Regions from separate parts of the Homo sapiens genome. Here regions 1, 3 and 4 are each linked to region 2. Evidence: promoter capture Hi-C in 16 types of primary human blood cells and fetal thymus (Javierre and others, 2016). All regions are on one chromosome and are shown on one strand. Each heading gives the region's core, a stretch centred on a gene start or on the middle of the fragment in contact. The rest is flanking DNA. Distances are from core to core; before and after follow the strand shown. Region 1 holds the start of SCAMP2 (secretory carrier membrane protein 2). Region 2 holds the start of CLK3-AS1 (CLK3 antisense RNA 1). Region 3 holds the start of RPP25 (ribonuclease P/MRP subunit p25). Region 4 holds the start of COX5A (cytochrome c oxidase subunit 5A).

What was found. The method cuts DNA at HindIII sites, captures the fragments that hold promoters and counts their contacts. A CHiCAGO score of 5 or more calls a contact.
Region 1: the fragment with the promoter of SCAMP2 here is called in contact with a fragment that was not itself captured in region 2 in 13 of 17 cell types (naive CD4 T cells, naive CD8 T cells, non-activated CD4 T cells and 10 more); the score reaches 10.6 in naive CD4 T cells.
Region 3: the fragment with the promoter of RPP25 here is called in contact with a fragment that was not itself captured in region 2 in 9 of 17 cell types (naive B cells, total CD8 T cells, naive CD4 T cells and 6 more); the score reaches 8.4 in naive B cells.
Region 4: the fragment with the promoter of COX5A here is called in contact with a fragment that was not itself captured in region 2 in 12 of 17 cell types (non-activated CD4 T cells, naive CD8 T cells, total CD4 T cells and 9 more); the score reaches 13.7 in non-activated CD4 T cells.

Annotation. Positions count from the first base shown.
Region 1 is chr15:74,871,869-74,874,812 of GRCh38, reverse strand. SCAMP2 (secretory carrier membrane protein 2) reads left to right here and starts at 1,448. Exons shown (of 9, transcript NM_005697.5): 1 at 1,448-1,614. The coding sequence starts at 1,558. The HindIII fragment of the contact is 8,993 bases long and covers 1-2,944 here.
Region 2 is chr15:74,614,234-74,617,105 of GRCh38, reverse strand. It overlaps CLK3-AS1 (CLK3 antisense RNA 1), which reads left to right and starts at 1,314. Exons shown (of 9, transcript XR_007064715.1): 1 at 1,314-2,872. CLK3 (CDC like kinase 3) reads right to left here and starts at 1,270. Exons shown (of 13, transcript NM_001130028.2): 1 at 1,208-1,270. RefSeq lists enhancers at 1-515, 516-1,127 and silencers at 1,216-1,755, 2,176-2,495. The HindIII fragment of the contact is 4,168 bases long and covers 1-2,872 here.
Region 3 is chr15:74,955,414-74,958,203 of GRCh38, reverse strand. It overlaps RPP25 (ribonuclease P/MRP subunit p25), which reads left to right and starts at 1,432. Exons shown (of 1, transcript NM_017793.3): 1 at 1,432-2,790. The coding sequence starts at 1,621. The coding sequence ends at 2,220. RefSeq lists enhancers at 815-1,748, 1,749-2,682, 2,683-2,790 and a silencer at 1,140-1,789. The HindIII fragment of the contact is 5,452 bases long and covers 1-2,790 here.
Region 4 is chr15:74,936,690-74,939,389 of GRCh38, reverse strand. COX5A (cytochrome c oxidase subunit 5A) reads left to right here and starts at 1,317. Exons shown (of 5, transcript NM_004255.4): 1 at 1,317-1,475. The coding sequence starts at 1,376. RefSeq lists a silencer at 1,064-1,623. The HindIII fragment of the contact is 6,406 bases long and covers 1-2,700 here.

The DNA of each region.
Region 1 (2,944 bases), core at 199-2,698, 260 kb before region 2:
GCAGCTTTGACCTCCTGAGCTCAAACAGTCCTCCTGCCTCAGCCTCCCAAGTAGCTGGGAGTACAGGCACAGGCCACCATGCCTAGCTAATTACGTGTGTGTGTGAGATATGTATATGTATATATATATATATATATATATATATATATATTTTTTTTTTTTTTTTTTTTTTTTTGTAGAGCCAGGGTCCTGGTATGTTGCCTAGGCTGGTCTCGAACTCCTGGCTTCAAGTGATCCTCCTACCTCTGCCTCCCAAAGTACTGGGATTACAGGCATAAGCCACGCACCCAGCCCTTTATGGAAATTAATTGAAAAATTTTAACAAAGTTCTGTGATAATTTTGCCCCCTTTAAACATATCTTTGATTACAACATGAAGAACAATAGACCAATTAACAGCACTGTATTAGTTCAGGGTAAAAATGACAGTGGCTGGGATTCGGTGACAGCAGAGATGAATAATACCAGACAGATCCAAATAAATAAGGTGGATTTGGCCAGACAGTGGTTCATGAGTATAATCCTAGCATTTTAGGAAGCCAAGGCGGGAGGATCACTTCAGCCCAGGTGTTTGAGACGAGCCTGGGCAATATAGTGAGATCCCCATCTCTACAAAAAATCCATAAATTAGCTGGGTATGGTGGTGACCAGCTGTAGTCCCAGCTACTCAGGAGGCTGAGGTGGGAGGATTGCTTGAGCCCAGGAGCTCGAGGCTGCAGTGAGCCATGATTGCACCACTGCACTCCAGCCTGGGCGACAGTGAGACCCTGTGGGGGGCGGGGGCGGGGGAAAGCGGAGCTGTGGAGAGTGAAGCAGCCACCTCCCCCATGATTGAGGCTGTGTTGCTGAATTCCGTGAGTCACTTCATAAATGTTTGATGTCCAGGTTCAAGTCCCAACTCAGGTCCCAAAGCTGATGGGCCCAGGAACCCTCGTCCCTAAAACGATGAAACGACATCAGAGGGCGAGCAGCCCTAGAAGAAGCAGGCTCAGCTCGGGTGGAGGACTGCTGGATGGTCCTGGCACTTCTCTTTCCCCGAGCACGTTCTGCAGAAGAAGCGCTTTCCTAGTTCTCCCAAGGCCTCTGGCCTCACCTGTCACCCCTGTCCTTTGCCCAGGGATCAGTTTGGACTTCTTCCCAAACTTGGTCTACAGAGAAGTGAAGGGGCTGTTTCCTGTCCCACTTTTGAGAGTTTGCTTTAGAAACATAAAATTGGAAGGTGTCAGATTGATAGGCAGTTGGGAAGGACTCCGGCCACGCCTCTGGCTCCGTAGACGCTCCGCGCAGCCAAGACCCCTGAATCCCCAGCAGAGCGAAGATGTGGACGGAAGCCGAATGCCCACCCACCGCACTATTGTGGGCTGGGCGGGGGGGGGGGGGGGGGGGGCGGAGCGACCCCGGTGCCGTCATAGGGCCACGCCCTCGGGGGAGGGCATCGCGCCTGCGCCAGAACCGCTGCCTCGCTCCCGGAAGTGGAGGGTCTACACGAAGCGCCGCTGGGTCTGGGTGCCCGGAGGCAGCAGCGTTCGCGGAGTTCGCCCGCTGGCCCCCGATCACCATGTCGGCTTTCGACACCAACCCCTTCGCGGACCCAGTGGATGTAAACCCCTTCCAGGTAGAGCCCCTCTCCCGCCATCCAGCTCTCAGATTTCCCTAGGGCCCACGGCCGCCGCCCGGGCCTCTCGCTAGAGCCGGGAGACGTGGCGTAGGAGGGACGGGTCATCTGCCCAATGGGAGAGCGGGCTTTGAGGTCTGGCCTATCGTAACGCGTGAGGGGCGCGACTAGCAGCAGGTGGAACTGCAGAGGAGGCGGGGCGCTGAAGTGTTGGAGACAGTGGGGTCTTCTAGCACCCGGAGGCTGGGCTGTGCTAGGGAAGGGGACTGGAGCAGGTACGGTCGGACCCTTCCGGAAGTCTCCTAGCGTCAGGGAGAAGCGAAATGTGGCTATCGCATTCCCTCATTCTTGGATAGACACCTGTCTTGAGTCACTTTAGAAGAGGGGGTGACAGCAACATATGAGGAGGTGGTGAAGCCTCTGGTGGAGGGGAAAAATGTGGGAAAAGCCCAGGACACCTGCCACCGCTCCACCACCAGCCAAACTAGTGTATAAAGTACAGGAGAGCCCCTGAGATTTGTCAGGGAAAGAAAGATGGGAGAGGGCGGGAAGGTAGCCCAAGTTGAAAAATGGCCTTGATAAGAATTCCACATTTTGGCCATGGGTCTAGTTTGGAGTGGGTTTTGACCAGATAGGAGAGCCCGGGTTAGGGAGAGAGGAGAGGTGCGGGGGACTGTGAAAAATTCTGGACCCACAGGGAACGTTTGTCTGATGGAACTGTGTGTGGTGGCAACATAGTTGAGATGCACTGACGTGTGAGCTGGCCTGACTTTTTTTTTTTTTTTTGAGACGGAGTCTCGCTTTGTCGCCCAGGCTGGAGTGCATTGGCACGATTTCCGCTCACTGCAACCTCTGCCTCCCGAGTTCAAGCAATTCTCCTGCTTCAGCCTCCTGAGTAGCTGGGACTACAGGCGTATGCCACCACACCCAGCTAATTTTCATACTTTTAGTAGAGACGGGGTTTCACCGTGTTGGCCAGGCTGGTCTCAAACTCCTGACCTCAGGTGATCCATCCGCCTCGGCCTTCCAAAGTGCTGGGATTACAGGTGTGAGCCACCACGCCTGGCCTGACCTTTTGAACAGCAATCAAGGAAGAAACAATCTTCCTGCTTTCTTTCTTTTCCTTTTTTTTTGTTTTGTTTTGTTTTGTTTTTTGAGACAATTCTTGCTCTGTCGCCCAGGCTGGAGTGCAGTAGCGCGATCTCGGCTCACTGCAGCCTCAGCCTCCTGGGTTCAAGTGATTCTCGTGCTTCAGCCTCCCGAGAAACTGGGATTACAGGTGTGCACCACCACACCCGGCTAATTTTTGTATTTTTAGTAGAGACGGGGT
Region 2 (2,872 bases), core at 50-2,549:
TAACAGAGAAGAGTATCCTTCCTTTAACACATTCTAGGCAAGTAAAATATTGGAAATAGCAGATATCATCCTCCCAGCCAGGGCTCTAGGGCCCATTTCTCAATTATCTCTGATTCTCGAAAACCTCAGCAAACAGCTTGTTTAAAAAGCAGCTAAAGGCCACAATTATGCTTTGGGAAGCTCTGCTCTGCACAATGAGGAAAAAGGTGATATGAAGAAAACCAAGCCAAGGATGTCAACTTTGAGCACAGGCCTTGTCGGCTTCTCATTTGCTGTTCCTGGCCAGAGAACTGGGCTGACTAGAAGTGCAGCCAGCCAGGTCAGCGGCTGCCCTCCCGGATTCCAGCCACCCCAGCACCCATGGTTATTTTTGGCTGGACTGCCCTACCACTGCAACCTCAAACCTGCCACCTCGCAAGCCTCCACCACCAACGGTGAAACGCTCCTCCTTTTCAAGGGCATCAAGAAGGGAAGCTGGAAGGCCGCCAACTCCGCCTCTGATGGGGGCCTGGTTCAGGCAATTTCCACCCCAGCTCCACATCAGGGCACCCACACCCGGAACTAAAGCTAGAGACTCCCGGGCGGGACGGAGGAGCAGCCAGGGGATTTGAACTGTCAGCTTGGCCTAGCCCATCCTCCGGGCTGGAGTGGCTCTACCACCACAACAAAACACACAGGGGAGCCTGCGCCCTCGTTCGCGTCCCTTCCTGCCGCCCCAGGTCCCAGGGGGTCTCAGAGTCCCATCCCCTGTAACCGCCACCAGTGGCGCCGAGGGGAGACCCGGGGACAGAGGGAAAGCCGGACTGGGCCAGAATCAAACTCCAGGCCGCCAAGGGAGGAGTCATCTGCGGACTAAGCCTGAAGCCAGGGGTAGGGGAGGGGTCTGAAGGGCTTCTCTGGCTCTTCTACGTCGGACCCCGACCCCATTCCGCGGGCAGGCACAGAGCCCAAACTGGACCCTTGAGCGGCCCCAGAGGCCGTTCAGGCTCCGCCTTCAACACCGTGGGGTCGAGGTCAGGGTCTGCAGTGACCGCCCTCCGGGGCAGAAGCAGCGGGTCAGGGGTGAGAGGTCGCGGCCCGATATGGGCCGAAGAGGAGAAAGAAAGGGAGTAGGCCGAGACCGAATGGCACCAGCGCGCCTGCCCCGCCGACTCACCCCCGGCCGCCGCCGCCGCTGTCGCCGCCGCGGACCCCAGCCCACACTTACCGTCTCCCAGGCTCCGGCTGCAGCTAGGCCCCACTCCCCGCTCCGAGCGCCTCTTCCGCTTCCGGCTGCGACCTCCGCCCGTGGCAGCCCCGCCCCCTCGCGTGACGCAGCCGTCGCCAGCCTCGGCTCGACCCGGCTCGGAGGCCTGGCCGCTCTAGCCCCCGACTCGAAGGCTCCGGGGCACCAGCCCTCTCCGCTCCGGCGGGCGCCGCGGCCTAGGAGACTAGTTCCGGGAGGGCCGAGGGGACGAGCCTGGCCCGGCCCGCCTCCCGCCGTGTCGCGGCGCACGTAGGTCCCCCGACCTGACAGGTGCGCGGCCCGGGCCGGCTGGGCTCTCAGAGCCGAGAGGTGGGGCCCCGACCTGGCCGTGGGGCTGGGCCCGCTCCGTCGCCCCGACCCCGCGTGGTCCGCCAACTCCCTCCTGCGCGCGGAGAGGACGGGCATTGTTCTCGGGGCCCCGGAGAGCGCGAGAGCGGCCTGAGGTCTGTGTGCCGGAGCTCGGGAAGGCGGACGCGACTCCGCTTGCGCGAAACGAGCGAACGACACATTATTATCTTGGTGTGTGCGGGTTTTTTGAAAGCCGTGGTGGCGCTCCCAGCTCGCCAGTGCGTGCGGGGCAGTTTCTGGGAAGATACCCTAGAGCTACTCTGGCGGGGCCGGAGTCTGGAGGGAGGAGATCCCCTCTCCTTGAGCCCCCTCCTGTGGAGCGGCTTCCTGCCGGCCTGCGTGGCCTCTCAGTTAAGACTCCCCCGCTAGACAAAAGCCCCGCCGGCTGCGTCTCTGGGCCACTGGACAGCCCCCTTTTGCAGAGGCCTCGAGCGTGGGGTCACCAAAATCCCTGACACCTACTGTCCCGCGCCGGGTCGGACAGGATTACGAGGCCCCACTTTCCAGATGAGAAAACTGAGGTGGGGATCTTTTGAGACCTCACTGTGAGCGTGCGCGTCCCGCCCGGTCTGGGAGTGGCGTCCCCGGCCTCGCGAGCGTCGCGCAGTGAAGCGACAGGGCGTGGCGCCTAATTGTCCCCACGCCACGCGAGGGCTAGAAACCCGCAGTCGGGGCGGACCATCCCTCCAGGCACCGCCCCCTCCTTGGGACCGCTCCGCGGGGGCGCCAAGGGTTTCCCCAGCACCGCCCCGGCGGCCGCCAGCCAGCCGCGGCCCCGCCCATGCCCCTCCCCGCGGGTCTGGGCCCGCCCCTGAAGCGGGGAGGTGTCGCAGGGGAGCCCCCCGCTTCCGAGCTGCGGCTGCGCATCAAGTCCTTCGCCAGCGGCTCTCCCTGAAACGGGGGGTTTCAAGGCGTGATTTGTAGGGGTGTTTAGTATCCCCTAAATCTCTGCCAGCTCCACCATGGCTATCCGAAGTAAACAACAGAAGCTAATTCAAAACTGGGTCCCCTTCCAAAAAATTACAAAAATTAGCCGGACTGGGTGGCGCATGCCTGTAGTTCCAGCTCCTTGCAGGGGACTGAGGCAGGAGGATCGCTTGATCCCAGGAGGTTGAGATTGCAGTGAGCTATGATCACACCACTGCACTCCAGCCTGGTCGACAGAAGGAGACCCTGTCTCAAAAAATAAACAAAAAATCGGCCAAGCGCGGTGGTTCACCCCTCTAATCCCAGTACTTTGGGAGGCTGAGGTGGATGATCACCTGAGGTCAGGAATTC
Region 3 (2,790 bases), core at 183-2,682, 340 kb before region 2:
CGCCGGAGAGGCATCCAGTAGTTCCATAATGCCCCCAGGGCTTCAACTCCCCATCTTCCTCCCTTCTTTCTCTCTTTTATTTTTTTTTAAGTCTTTTTAATTTTTGTGGGTATACAATAGGTGTCTATATTTAGAGGGTACATGAGACGTTTTGATACAGGCATGCAATGCATAATAATCACATCCTGGAGAATGGGGTATCCCTCCCTTCTCTTTTGTATTTTATTTAATTAATTAATTTATTCATTTTTCGAGACAGAGCTTTGCTCTGTCGCCCCGGCTGGAGTGCAGTGGCATGATCTCGGCTCACTGCAGCCTTCAGCTCCCGGGTTCAAGCGCTTGTCCTGCCTCAGCCTCCCGAGCAGCTAGGATTACAGGAGCGTGCCACAACGCCGAGCTGATTTTTGTACGTTTAATGGAGACGGGGTTTCACCATGTTGACCAGGCTGGTCTCGAACTCCTGACGTCAAGTAATCCGCCCACCTCTGCCTCCCAAAGTGCTGGGATTAAAAGCGTGAGACACCGCGCCCGGCCCCTCCCTTCTCTTTTTTAAAACCTGCGTTCACCTAGCCTCCTTTCGAAAAGGACCCCACTGGATCTCAAGGGGCCAATGTTGCCTGAGCGAATTCCGCCTGGGAGGAAGGGGGCGGCCACGTTGGCAAGGCATCGTGCCTGGCTCACCCTAAAGCGCGCAGCTCTAAGGGTGGGCTCTAGGGCCTGGGTGGAGCGAGCCTACCGCCTTTTCAGAAGAGGTCACGCCCGCTTCCCCACGCGCCTCGGGGAACAGCCTGGCCCAAAGCCTCACTCCTCACGTCCCAGGGGTGGACGGGGGTCCGGGAGCCTCGAGCTCCGGGCAGGCGTGGCGAGGCTGAAGTCTGGGTCTTCCGCGCCCCGCGAGGACCACGCCGCGACGTAATCGCCCGCGGGGAGGCGCGGAGTGGAGCCGCAGCCAGCTCCTCCCGCACTCTGCTGACCGCGCACTAGCTGTCCTTGAGGCAAGAATACTTGGGAGCGGAAAAAAGGTGGGGGTGTTCCCCGGGGCGGGGGAGGAGGGGCAAGGCCCCAGCAAGCCTCTTGGAAATCTCTCCCTGGGAGGGGACGAGGGGCGGCCTTCAGTTGCAAATGGGAAGGGCTCGGATACCGGATTTGAAGCAGTGTTTGCACGGCAAGCGCAGCTTTTATTTAGACTGCCGGTTTGTGAGGGTTGGCTCTCAGAGCGCTGATGGCGATTATAGTGGAACTTCACCTTCACCTGCTCATGCGCCCCGCAGCGCGCCCGCTCCCACGCCCGCGTAGCTGAGGACCCAGACTCGCCAGGAAAGGCTAGTGAGGCTGGGGCCCGGGCGGGCCCGGCCGGGCCGGGTCAGGGGAGGGGCCTGGCGGCAGGGGCGGGGCCTCAGCTAAAGGCGCGGAGCACCCGGCGCCGAGAGCGCTGAGTAGAGCGGCGCCCGCTCGAGAGAAGTGGGGCCGAGATCGCGCCGTCCCAGCCCGCCCGCCGGCGTCTGCGCTGCTCCGGCGCCCTTACCCCTGCTGGCCCTTGCAAGGCGCGACCGGCGGCCATGCAGCCCCGGGGCTGAGGCCGCCCCATGGCAAAGCCGGCGGTCCCGGCGACGACGGCGCATGGAGAACTTCCGTAAGGTGCGCTCCGAAGAGGCGCCAGCGGGGTGCGGGGCCGAGGGAGGCGGCCCGGGCTCCGGCCCCTTCGCAGACCTGGCGCCGGGCGCGGTGCACATGCGGGTCAAGGAAGGCAGCAAGATCCGGAACCTGATGGCCTTCGCCACCGCCAGCATGGCGCAGCCAGCCACGCGCGCCATCGTCTTCAGCGGCTGCGGCCGGGCCACCACCAAAACCGTCACGTGCGCCGAGATCCTCAAGCGCCGCCTGGCGGGCCTGCACCAGGTCACGCGGCTGCGCTACCGGAGCGTACGCGAGGTGTGGCAGAGCCTCCCGCCTGGGCCCACGCAGGGTCAGACGCCTGGCGAGCCGGCCGCTAGTCTCAGCGTACTTAAGAACGTGCCCGGCCTCGCCATCCTACTTTCCAAGGACGCGCTGGATCCGCGACAGCCCGGCTACCAGCCCCCGAATCCCCATCCTGGTCCCTCGTCCCCGCCAGCCGCGCCAGCGTCCAAGAGGAGCCTAGGGGAACCCGCAGCTGGAGAAGGCTCCGCGAAGCGATCGCAACCCGAGCCAGGGGTTGCGGACGAGGATCAGACGGCCTGAAACTCCGGACTGTGGGCCACCTAGTCCGGCAGGATCTTCCGCCAGCGCCTCCACCTTCAGATGTACCTCCAGCCTTTCACTCCTCGGTCCTCCGGAGCCCACAACCTGGACACAGCTCCTCAAGACAGGTAGCATGGACCTTAAGGCGACAAGAGAGGGGCCCCAGGAGTGGCAGGAGAGGATCCCCGACCACCCTAGGGAAACTTCGTGCGATAATTGCTGCTTATGCCCGTGTTGCGTGAAGACACGGAACTTCACCTTTTCTGGGACCTTCTTTGGGGGAGAATGGTGGACAGTGGGATTCTGGAAACTTGTTTGGGACCCCCAAGGGTTAAAGCCACCCAGCATTCACGAAGAGCACCTGAAGTATGGAAGCTGAGAAGAGTTATTGGAATCACCCCCACCGTTGACAGAGGAAGGCAGGGGGTGAGAATTAACTGCTTGAGGGTAGGAGAGTCTGAGATGTGGGGGCCCTATTCCGCTCCCCGCCCTGGGACAGTTTTCCTTTCTAGTTTTCTTTCCCCTGCTTCAGAGGAGCATCTCTGAGGGTTCTAGCTCTTTTAACACCCC
Region 4 (2,700 bases), core at 68-2,567, 320 kb before region 2:
AGGTGTCCTTGACTGCCCAGGGGCTCAAAGTTAGGATGTAGCTAGTGAGATAAGATGCAACAACTGTGGAACTTGATCAACCCTATTTCAGAGCCATCGTGGATTCAGGAGCCCTCCTGTAGGAGATGGGAAACATTCAGGTGAGAGTCCTCAGAACTGGGGATGTGGCGAAAAGATCCTTGACTGCCAGCAGCAACCTAATTTCTGAGCCTCTTTCCTAATCTGTGAAATGAAGTAGTTTAACTCATTTTTTATGCAAGCTGGTTTGTGATATAAGAATATGTACTAATAAAATCCCTTACGCATAGGCCTTTTTTTTTTTTGAGATGGAGTTTTGATCTTGTTGCCCAGGCTGGAGTGCAATGGTGCGATCTCAACTCACTGCAACCTCTGCCTCCTGGGTTCCAGCAATTCTCCTGCCTCAGCCTCCCAAATAGCTGGGATTACAGGCATGCGCCACCACACCTGGCTAATTTTGCATTTTTAGTAGAGACAGGGGTTTCTCCATGTTGGTCAGGCTGGTCTCGAACTCCCGACCTCAGGTGATCCGCCCGCCTTGGGCTCCCAAAGTGCTAGGATTACAGGCGTGAGCAACCGCGTCCAGCGGCATTCTTTCCCCCATTCGCTGTTTTATTTTATGCCACAATGAGAAGGCGGGGCTAAGCAAAGTAGGTTTTTGTTTTGTTTGGTTTTTTTGAGACGGAGTTTCGCTCTTGTTGCCCAGGCTGGAGTGCAATGGCACCATCTCGGCTCACCGCAACCTCCTCCTCCTGGGTTCAAGCGATTCTCCTGCCTCAGCCTCCCGAGTAGCTGGGATTGCGGGCATGCGTTGCGCCACCACGCCTGGCTAATTTTGTATTTTTAGTAGAGACGGGGGTTCCTCCATGTTGCCCAGGCTGGTCTTGAACTCCCGACCGCAGGTGATCCGCCCGCCTCGGCCTCCCAAAAGTGCTGGGATTACAGGCATGAGCCACAGCGCCCGGGCGCAAAGTACGTATTTTTTATTATAGTTTGTTGTTATTGCTGTCATTCCTATTTTGAGGTGATTAAGTGCCCTCCTGGGCCTGACTCGAACAAGATCACGGTCGGTTGCTCCTCCCTCGCCTCCATTCCTACTTACAGGATGGCAGCTGCACGTCACCTGACCAGAGACAAGGCGGGACGCGAGGCTAACAGTTTGTCCTCAGCGCGCCGCCGTAGCCCCCGCCGCCGCCGGCCGCGCGGTGGCTCCTCCCGCCCACGCGCCAGAGTCGCAGTGGGCGGGCCTACGTGCTCCGCCCGCTGTGAGCCTGTCCGGCCCCCGCCCGCTCCGGAGCAACCCGCGAGCTTACACCGGCTTCTCTCTGTCCTCAGCCCGCGCGCCGCCATCGCCGTCATGCTGGGCGCCGCTCTCCGCCGCTGCGCTGTGGCCGCAACCACCCGGGCCGACCCTCGAGGCCTCCTGCACTCCGCCCGGACCCCCGGCCCCGCCGTGGGTAAGGCCCCTGCTTGCCACTGCCCGCGCCCTCGTGTCCTTGCGGTGACCTGGGTCCCCGCTGCCACTCCGGGGCGGGCTCTCCCCGGCCTAGCCCTTGCCCTACCCTGGTTACTGAACCCGGTGACCGCGGGCCGCCCTGCCCGCCGCCTCGAGTAGTGGAGGACCTGAAAGCGCGCCCCCGGGGCCTCCCCCCGCGCAACTTCCTGGCTGTGCCACCGCGGACAGGTCAGATGTGGACCTGCTGTGGGCGCCGAGGAGGGGACGCAGCGCTCCCCTTCGGTTCCCGGGCCATGACCCTGCCCCAGCGCCGACCCTGCGGCCACCTGACCGAGAGTGGCCGCCGCCGGCCTGCAGCGCCTCGGCGAAGGTGACATTGAGCCTCCGGGCACGCCGCTTGGGGTCCGAGGACACAATATACTTCCGTATGGGACACACGATTATACTTTTCAATCAGGCATTTCTCGGTTAGCGATTAGTGTGTCACCTTCACAGCCTTTTCCATCATTTTTAGGGTCTGCTGTGCCACGTTCTAATTCTTCCACGTTTAAAATAGATGGAAGTGTGTGGTTGTTTCCTGATCTCCGGAAGATAGCCAGAGTTTTGATAGGGCTTATGATAAAAATATCACTCTTTTGAAAACTGAATGTCACAGACACAGGAATACTGGGTTTTACAAGCATAGGAACGCTTCGTGTTTTTTCCCCTTTGTAATAGAAGCCTGATTGCTGGAGTATGAGACGTGCTTCTGATTTTTGTCTATTTTCCTTCCCTTTATATGTGTGCTGGGAGGTTTTGAGTCCACCACCATAGAATAATTACAGTAATTGCACTTCGATCTTGGTCCGTGAAATTTAGCTTCTATGCATGCATATTATATTTTATTTTTGAACCTGCATCACTGGCAACTATGCATGCGTATTTAAACATAAGAACTCAGAAACTCGTTTCAGGGTATGCTGAAGTTAAAAATTAAAAAAAGAACTCAGCCGGGCGCGGTGGCTCATGCCTGTAATCCCAGCACTTTGGTAGGCCGAGGCGGGCGGATCACCTGAGGTCAGGAGTTCAAGACCAGCCTGGCCAACATGGTGAAACCCTGTCTGTACTAAAAATACAAAAAATTTAGCTGGGTGTGGTGGTGGGCGCCTGTAATCCCAGCTACTCGGGAGGCTGAAGCACAAGAATCGCTTGAACCTGAGAGGCGGAGGTTGCAGTGAGCCGAAATC